Linked DNA regions of Homo sapiens: region 1 is linked to region 2. Evidence: promoter capture Hi-C in human tissues and cell types (Jung and others, 2019). All regions are on one chromosome and are shown on one strand. The core of a region is centred on a gene start or on the middle of the fragment in contact, and the rest is flanking DNA. Distances in the headings are between cores, read along the strand shown. Region 1 has its middle 76 kb from the start of TDRP. Region 2 holds the start of ZNF596 (zinc finger protein 596).

Region 1 (3,758 bases), core at 171-2,670, 390 kb before region 2:
ATTGGTCACAGTTCTGGAGGCTGGACAGTCCAAGATCACGTCACCACCAGATTTAGTATCTAGAAAAGCTTCGTTCTCTGCTTCATAGATATGGTGTCTTCTCACTGCATCCTCAACGTAGCAGAAGGGAAGGCAGTTCTTGGGGGCCTCTTTTATAAAAGCATTAATCCTATTCATTTTCACAGGGCCCTCATGACCTAGTCACTCTCCAAAGGCCCCACCTCCTAATAACATCACCTTTTGCTGATTGAGTTTCAACATATAAATGGGGGGTGGATACAAACATTCAGACCATAGCAAGGAATTTATTTATTTATTTTTATTTTTCTGAGACAGAATCTTGCTCTGTCACCCAGGATGGAGTACAGTGGCACAATCTTAGGCCACTGTAATCTCAAACTCCTGGGATCAAATAGTCCTCCTGCCACAGTCTCCCAAGTAGCTAAGACTACAGGTGCACATGCCACCACGCTTGGTTAATTTTTTTCATTTTTATTTTCTGTAGAGGTGTTGTCACTGTGTTGTCCAGGCTGGTCTCAAACTACTGGCCTCAAGGGATCGTCATGCCTTGGCCTCCCAACGTGCTGGGATTACAGGCATGAGCCACCACACTCAGCCACAAGGAAGTTTTAACATTATTTAATCTCTAATTGTTTTAGATATATTTCCTTTTGAGTTGGTTTGGGTAGTTTATGTTTTTCTAGGAATTGTATTTAACTTTGTTGGCTCATAATTGTTGATATTATTCACTTATAATCCTTTTTTACTTTTATAAGGTCATTATTTTATAAGATGTCCTCCCTTCCATTTCTAACTTTGGTAATTTAGTCCCTCTCTTTCTTTCGTAGTCTTTCTAAAGGATTGTCGTTTTGTCAGTCTTTTCAAAGAACTAACCATTGGTCTTGTTGATTTCTCTATTGTTTTTCTATTCTCTGTGTCAGTTATTTCTGCTCTAATCTTGATTATTTCCTTTCTTCTGCTGGTTTTTAGTTTGCTCTTCTCTATCTCCTTTCTCTTTTTAATTATTTAATTATTTTAATTATTTAAAAAATTTTTATTAACATATAGTTGACAAAAATTACATATATTTACTGTGTGATGTTTGATACATGTATACCTTGTTAAATGGTTATATCAAGCTAATTAACATATCCATCACATCACACACTTATCTTTTGTTGTGAGAAATTTTTCTAGTGTCTTAAGGTAGAAAGGTTATTGATTTGAGAGTGTCTTTTTTAATATAAGCATGTATAGCTATAACTTTTCCTCTGGGCACTGCTTTAGCTGCAGTCTATAAATATTGGCATGATGTGCTTTTATTTTCATCCTTCTCAAGTTTTTTTCTAATTTCCCTTGTAATTTCTTCTTTCATCCATTAGTTATTTAGGAGTGTATTGTTTAATTTTCACATATTTGTGAATTTCCCAAGTTTCTTCCTATTACTGATTTTTAATTTAAGTCTATTGTGCTCAGACAATATACTTTATGATTTCAATCCTATTTAAAGGTATTCGAGTTTATTTTATGGTGTATGCACCATATTGTCAGTCGTGGAGAACGTTTTATGTGTACTTGAGAATATGTATTCTGCTGTTTTTGGTGAAGTGTTCTGTAGATGCTGGTTAAATCTAAGTTTATTTAAGTTTTTATTTCTGTGTGGATCTTCTGCCTATTCATTCTATAAATAATTAAAAGTGGGGTATTGAAGTCTGTAAAAACCATTGTTAAATTGTCTACTTCTCCCTTCAATTTCACCAGTTTGCTTTATATATTTTGGGGTGCCACTGTTAGGTGCATATGGGTTTATAATTGTTATGTTAACATTTATCATTACAAAGTGTTTGTCTTTAGTAACATTTTCTGTTTTAAAGTCTGTTTTTTCTGATGTTAGTATAGCCTATCCAGCTCTGTCATGGTTGCTGTTTGCATGACGTATGTTTTTCTGTTCTTTAACTTTCAACTCATTTGTATTTTTAAAAGCTGCACTGGATTTTCTACAGAATATGAATACTTTTTCTATAGGAGGTCAGTGTACATTGCAGATACTATACAGACACACACAGAGACACACACTTGATAAGCAGGTTTCTGGTTTCCCTTTATTCAGTCTGATGATCTCTGCCTTTTGATTGACTTGTTCAATTGATTCACATTTAAATATTATTTTTATTGATTATTAGGTTTATATCTAACATTATGCTTTTTGTTTTCTTTTTTATTGATTTATTTATTTTTTGAGACAGAGTCTCACTCTGTTGCCCAGGCTGGAGTGCAGTGGCACAATCTCGGCTCACTACAACCTCCGCCTCCTGGATTCAAGTGATTCTCCTGCCTCAGCCTCCTGAGTAGCTGGGATTACAGGTGTGCGCCACCACGCCTGGCTAATTTTTGTATTTTTAGTAGAGACGAGGTTTCACCATGTTGATCAGGCTGGTTTCGAACTCCTGACCTCGTGATCCACCCACCTTGGCCTCCCAAAGTGCTGGGATTACAGGTGTGAGCCACCACGCCTGGCCCACTTTTTGTTTTGTATATGTCCTTATTATTCCTCCATTTTCTTTTATTGCTTTTTCATATTAAGTGGCTATTTTATAATGTAATATTTTTTATTCCTTAAATGACATTTTTACTGTATTGTTTATTTTCTTAGTGGTTGCTCTGGAGCTTACAATGTACATCTTAACATCAAATTTTATTTTAGATTTATACTAGCCTAATACCAGTGAAATACAGAAACATACTCCTGTGGAATGAGTTCAATTCCATAGACTTCATACAACATAGTTTCATTCCATAGACTTCTTTTTTGTGCTGTTGTTTAATATATTGTCCCTGTATATGTTACAAACCCAACAATATATTGTTATAATTACTACTGTATATAATCTTAAGTCTTTTAAGGAAGTTGAGAGAAGAAAGGAGAGCAAGTATATGTTTATAAAGTTTGTTATATTAATCTCCTTATTTACCATTTCTGATTCTCTTTTCTTCCCCCGGTGGATACTGGTTACTATCTGATGTCATTGCTTTCTCTCCAGTACAGCTTTGTTCCACCTGGCTTCTTTGTGCTGCTATTTTCAAATGTATTACGTTTCTATATGTTATAATACAAATAATGTAATTATATACATATTCTTTTATGTAAGCATTTTAAAAATAAGTTGAGAAGAAAGAAGAAATATGTTATACTGTCTTTTACAATTATCTACAGAATCCCCTTGTGTGAGATAGGTCTCACCGGGCCCCCCTCGTGCGCGGTGGGTCTCACCGGGGCCTCCTTGTGCGCGATGGGTCACGTGCCCTTTCTGTTCTCAAGGCTTTCTCTTTATTTGGCTTTCAACATTTTAACACGGGGCTGGGAGGTGGGCAACACAGGTGGCCAGAGCCCCAGACTGGGCACTGGGGGAGTAGGGCCCCCATTTTCTTTTCCACATCTGTAGAGAGCAGAGCTTCCATTTTCTCGATGGGCTTGGAGGGAGGGCTGAGGCTGAAATGCCACAGACTCTCACTGTTGTTACTAAGATTTACTGGATTTTCCTGAATAAATAGTTTTTCATTCTGCGTATGCCCTTAGGATAATTTCAGAGACTTTAAATGATGTTTAAAACCATTTTCTCCGGTTAAATGATTGTCTTCTGGGAGGAGTCCACCACTCCCAAGACGGCAGCTGTGTCCTCTACCTTTGAAATTTCCACCACTGATCTCCAACTCGGTCAGGCGTTTGGGGGACCTTGTCTCAAGTGGCGCTCTCAGTC
Region 2 (4,292 bases), core at 1,725-4,224:
GGTACATAAGAGTATCTATACAGTTTGTGGGCTGCATCTTGCTAGAATATATTACATTATAAAATGCACCATTTATTTACTCTGCGATCAAACCCCCAACTTGCCCCAAGTGGAGGAACCCTCAGACATTTGCAGAGCAGTCAGTGTGCTAGTAAGCAGCATTCTTTACAAATCTATGAACATCAAGGTCTCCTTGGAACAGATGTTCTGTGAACAATTTATAAAACTCCCTCCTGTTAGACACTTAGGTTGATTCCATTTTTAAATCAATTACTGAATAAAACACACTCCATCGTGTGGATGAAATGCTACCTTAATTTGTCAAAGCTATCATTTTCTAAACTTTTCTTTTTAATTCAAATCATTAATATTTTGTGGCCAGATCAATACTGATTCATTGTTTTAAGCTTCAAATGCATTATACAGTTGGGCAGAACACATTTCCTCTCATCAATCTTCTTTTCCAGGATTTGTCAGATATTCCTGACATTAATTCACTACTAATATGCACAGTTTCTCTAATCATGGTCAACAAAGATCTGACAGTGCATTGTCCCTAAACGACCCATACTTGCCTCACTGACACCATGTGGCCCACTTCCCATCTATAATCTATGTCTGGGTGTGAAGCCCTTCCCATATGATCCCCCGAATGGAACTTCACAAGTTCGAATTCACTGGGTCACAGTGTGATAGCGTGAAGATGGGAGGACGTTAAGGGAAGGCTATGGGTGAGTTGGGAAATGTGTTAGGCAGGGTCAGAGATTACCACATCCTAAAAACAACACTTAAGGCGGGAGATGACAAAACAATCAATGAATAACATGACTTTTTCCAGTGAAAGTGCCATATCTAATCCTTTTCCATTTTTGTTCTCTGAGCTTCTTTCTTAGGGAAGATCCTTCTTGAGAAGCCCCTGCTGAGTATTAGGAAAATGCATTTCAGGACCTCTCATCAACACACCCTCTTTCTTTACCACAACCACATATATGGGGGCATAACTCAACATGTGTAAAAGACAATCTTCTGCTTTTCACTGAACCTCCAGGAATTCAGGACAATAAACCTCTACATGCAGACCAACAGGTGAGTTTTTCTGCCCCTTCTTTCATAACACCGTTCTTCCCTAGTGAAGTCCACACACATCCTTACATGGCAGCTGTGGGTATATCAACTGGTCTGACCCCTTTTAGTCACAGAGCCTGAAGTCTGCTAGTACCTGCTGAGCACAGTGTCATGGGTGAGAATGGGCAAGGCTTTTTCTTTCTCTGGTTCCTGAACTTCCCAGGCTCTCTCACTTCTGGATCCTGAATACCCAAATCCCAAGCTTCCTTCCCAGAACCAACACCTCCTCCTCATTAGAAAGATACCTTTGTTGTGTGCTTACTTTATAAAGTCTTGCTCTTTCCCTGTCCACTGCCTTGTGTCACTATGTGTGTGTCTTGGGGCCGGTGGAAAGGTGAACAGAAGCCAGTAGAGAGTAACAAGCACCAGCTTCACAGGAATGGCATGACCTTAATACGATAGTGGCAGTTTTCCCTTAACATCCCTGCCCCCTAAAGATTTCAGATCATATGTCACACTCTTAAGTAACAGCGATTTGTCTTTCACGGTTTTAATCATATTGATTAAAAGCATTTGTCTTCTCCAGAACATCACATTAAGTCATCAAAAAATATAAACCTTAAAAAGATGTAATTATTGGAACTGAAAAACATAAAAGGTGAGCTTTGGAAATATCTTTGAGCAGTCTATTCATTATGAACACATGTAATCTGTTGGAACAAAGTTCTAGGACAATCCAGGTCATCCTTCAATATTTGCAGAAAACAGCACAAAGAAAACTTGATACTTAAACTTAGTTGGAAACTTTATGCCACAGCCATTAAATACAGAGATCATATAAAGGAATAGAGGAAGCTGTTGAATACTAAACTAACTCAAATCATCATTATCCTTACGAAGTGCACACTGAATTAATGTAAAAAGCATTTAGTAAACAAAAAGTATTTTCAATATACAATTAAGACTGAAAAGTATTGAGGCCTCATAAGCTGAACCTGACACAATAAATTTAAAAGGGAAACTAATTTGGAAATCAGAAAACCATCTAAAGAATTTGGGAATTAGGCTTCTGCTGCCCTCTCTGCTACTGACGGTCAAGGCCTCCTCATTGTATTCTGTCCTCCATATCTCTGCTGATTCCCATTTTGTCTATTTCCATTTACCCCACTACTACTTGCTCAGGTCACTCTCCTTCATTGTCGGTGTTTGTTCAAATTCCTCAGACCCATCCACTTCCCATCTAAACTTCCCTCCCCTTTTCTCGCTCGTTGGCTCTACCTCCCTCCTCTGTTTTCTCCTCACTCTCCTGCCCCACCTCGACATCCACAGCGAGGCAATGAAGAAGCCCCTGCCAAGGAAGAGCCCGCTTCTCAGTGGGACACCGGGAAGGTAAACACCCAACAGTCACCGCTAGTGGGAGGCGATTGTGCAGAAGCACGAGGGTTGTTACAGGATCGGGCAGGTCCCCTACCCCAGTCTCGGACTCAGGGTCCTGTCTGAGGCGGCCACCCCGAAGCGTGGGGTTTGCGGAGACGTAGGGCCTGGCGGAGGGAAGGATGGGGAAGCATCTCAGGGAGGACTGGCGTCTGCCGAATCCCAGGGCTGCCCTGAGGGGCCAAGAGGGGCGAGGGTGGGGACGATGGAAGACAAGCCACATGCCGAATCGGGACCTGAGGCCGCGCGCGATAGGATGGGCGGACGGTGAAGAGAACTAGGGTGGAAGGGCCGGACAGGGGCGACCTCAGTGACGGAACCGGACACAGACGCAGATCTGGCAGCTGGGCGACAGGCTTCGGAGCATTTCCGGGCGTCGCGGGACTCCCCGCCGACAGGAGGGCGGTTGCCGAGCCTGTGACATCCGCGGAGACCAGCAGACCCCGGGTGTGGAGGACGCCGCAGGAAGGGAACTGCGTGGCTGGGTTTGGCCACAAAAAGCGGAGGGCACTCACCCGAGCGGACCTCGGCTCCGGAGAATCCGTTTCCGGGTCAACAAAAAACGTCGCGCGAGGGGCGGGGCCCGTACGTGCAGGGAGGGGAGGCAGAGAAAAAGGCGGGGCCGGGCCGGGGCGGGGTCTCGGGCAGGGGCGGGGAGCTTACCGACCTCCCGCCCCCGCTGCGCGCGTTTCTGGCCCTGCCAGTGTCTCCGCCGGTTGAAAGCGCGTGTCTGCGTCGGGTTCTGTTGGAGTGCGTTCGGTGTGCCGTGGGTCCGCGCTGCTTCCACCCAACTTCCTGTTAGGTAAGAGGCGCGTGAGGCTCCTGTGCCGGGGGCGGTGCTGCTCCCGAGTCGGCGCGCGGCGGGGACGCGAGTCCGTAGGTGCTGGCGGGAGCGAGAGTCGGGTGGGGACCCTCGCGAGCCCGCACTCCGCCTCTGGGTAGCAGCCTCTTCGGCCCCACACGGCGTGACGCGCGCTCGGGCTCCGCGTTCGCGTCGAGGCAGAGGCGTAGTAGGGGTCGGGCCCAGGGCTGGAGGGGCCGGGACCGGGCGGGGTGCCGCCCTGGACACCGCGCCGGCAGCTGTTCCGCGCGGGTTCATGTCATTCCTATTTTCAACCTGTCCTGCTCCGCACCTGAGATGATTTATAAATTCGGTACCTTTGGGACAGGCGTGGATGACATCCCATAATTTACTTCGTTATTAATTTCTAAATGTAATACATACCACTATCTAAAAGTATTTTTTAATTTGAAATATATTTGTATACGTATACATGTATATTTATTTATTTCTGAATTTTATCTCGTACATATAATGAGGCTCGTAAAGTGGATACTGTTCAGGACATAGGTGGATTTTGCTTTTAAGTAGTAAAGACTTAATTGGTGACTTACTGGGGCTATTTGATAAGGATTTTTTTTTAATGAACATTAAAAACAGTGAAATTGTATTTCCGGATTTCGTTAGCTTCATTTATATCTTAATTGGTGAAAACTGTAAGTTAATAACTCATTTTTATTTCCTTTGGAGATTCTTAAGTTTGTGCTACCAATGATTATTTCCAAAAAAGGCACACTTCTGGTTTTCCCAGAACTAATGCTAGCTTCTCAATCTTTTGAGTTTACTTGATATTAATGTTTGACCTCAAATCATGTCACATTTTTGAAGAAAACTTTCTCTTAGCCAATGGAACATAAACCACCCTGGAGTTCATATAGAGGAGGGGTTCAAATGCCTCTGATAGTGTCGTGTTAAAACTCATGGCCAAACGCAAGGTCACATAGCTTTCTTT

The links. Contacts are between HindIII fragments. The study calls those that stand out against the background at their distance.
Region 1: a contact is called between a fragment that was not itself captured here and the fragment with the promoter of ZNF596 in region 2, in 1 of the 25 tissues and cell types used here (dorsolateral prefrontal cortex).

The regions. Positions count from the first base shown.
Region 1 is chr8:618,793-622,550 of GRCh38, reverse strand. It overlaps a transcript of ERICH1 not described here. Among named protein-coding and RNA genes, the nearest start is that of TDRP, 76 kb to the right of the region's middle. The HindIII fragment of the contact is 4,674 bases long and covers 1-3,757 here.
Region 2 is chr8:231,138-235,429 of GRCh38, reverse strand. ZNF596 (zinc finger protein 596) reads right to left here and starts at 2,974. Exons shown (of 6, transcript NM_001042416.3): 1 at 2,736-2,974. It also overlaps the pseudogene RPL23AP53. RefSeq lists an enhancer at 2,768-3,087 and a silencer at 3,108-3,207. The HindIII fragment of the contact is 11,154 bases long and covers 868-4,292 here.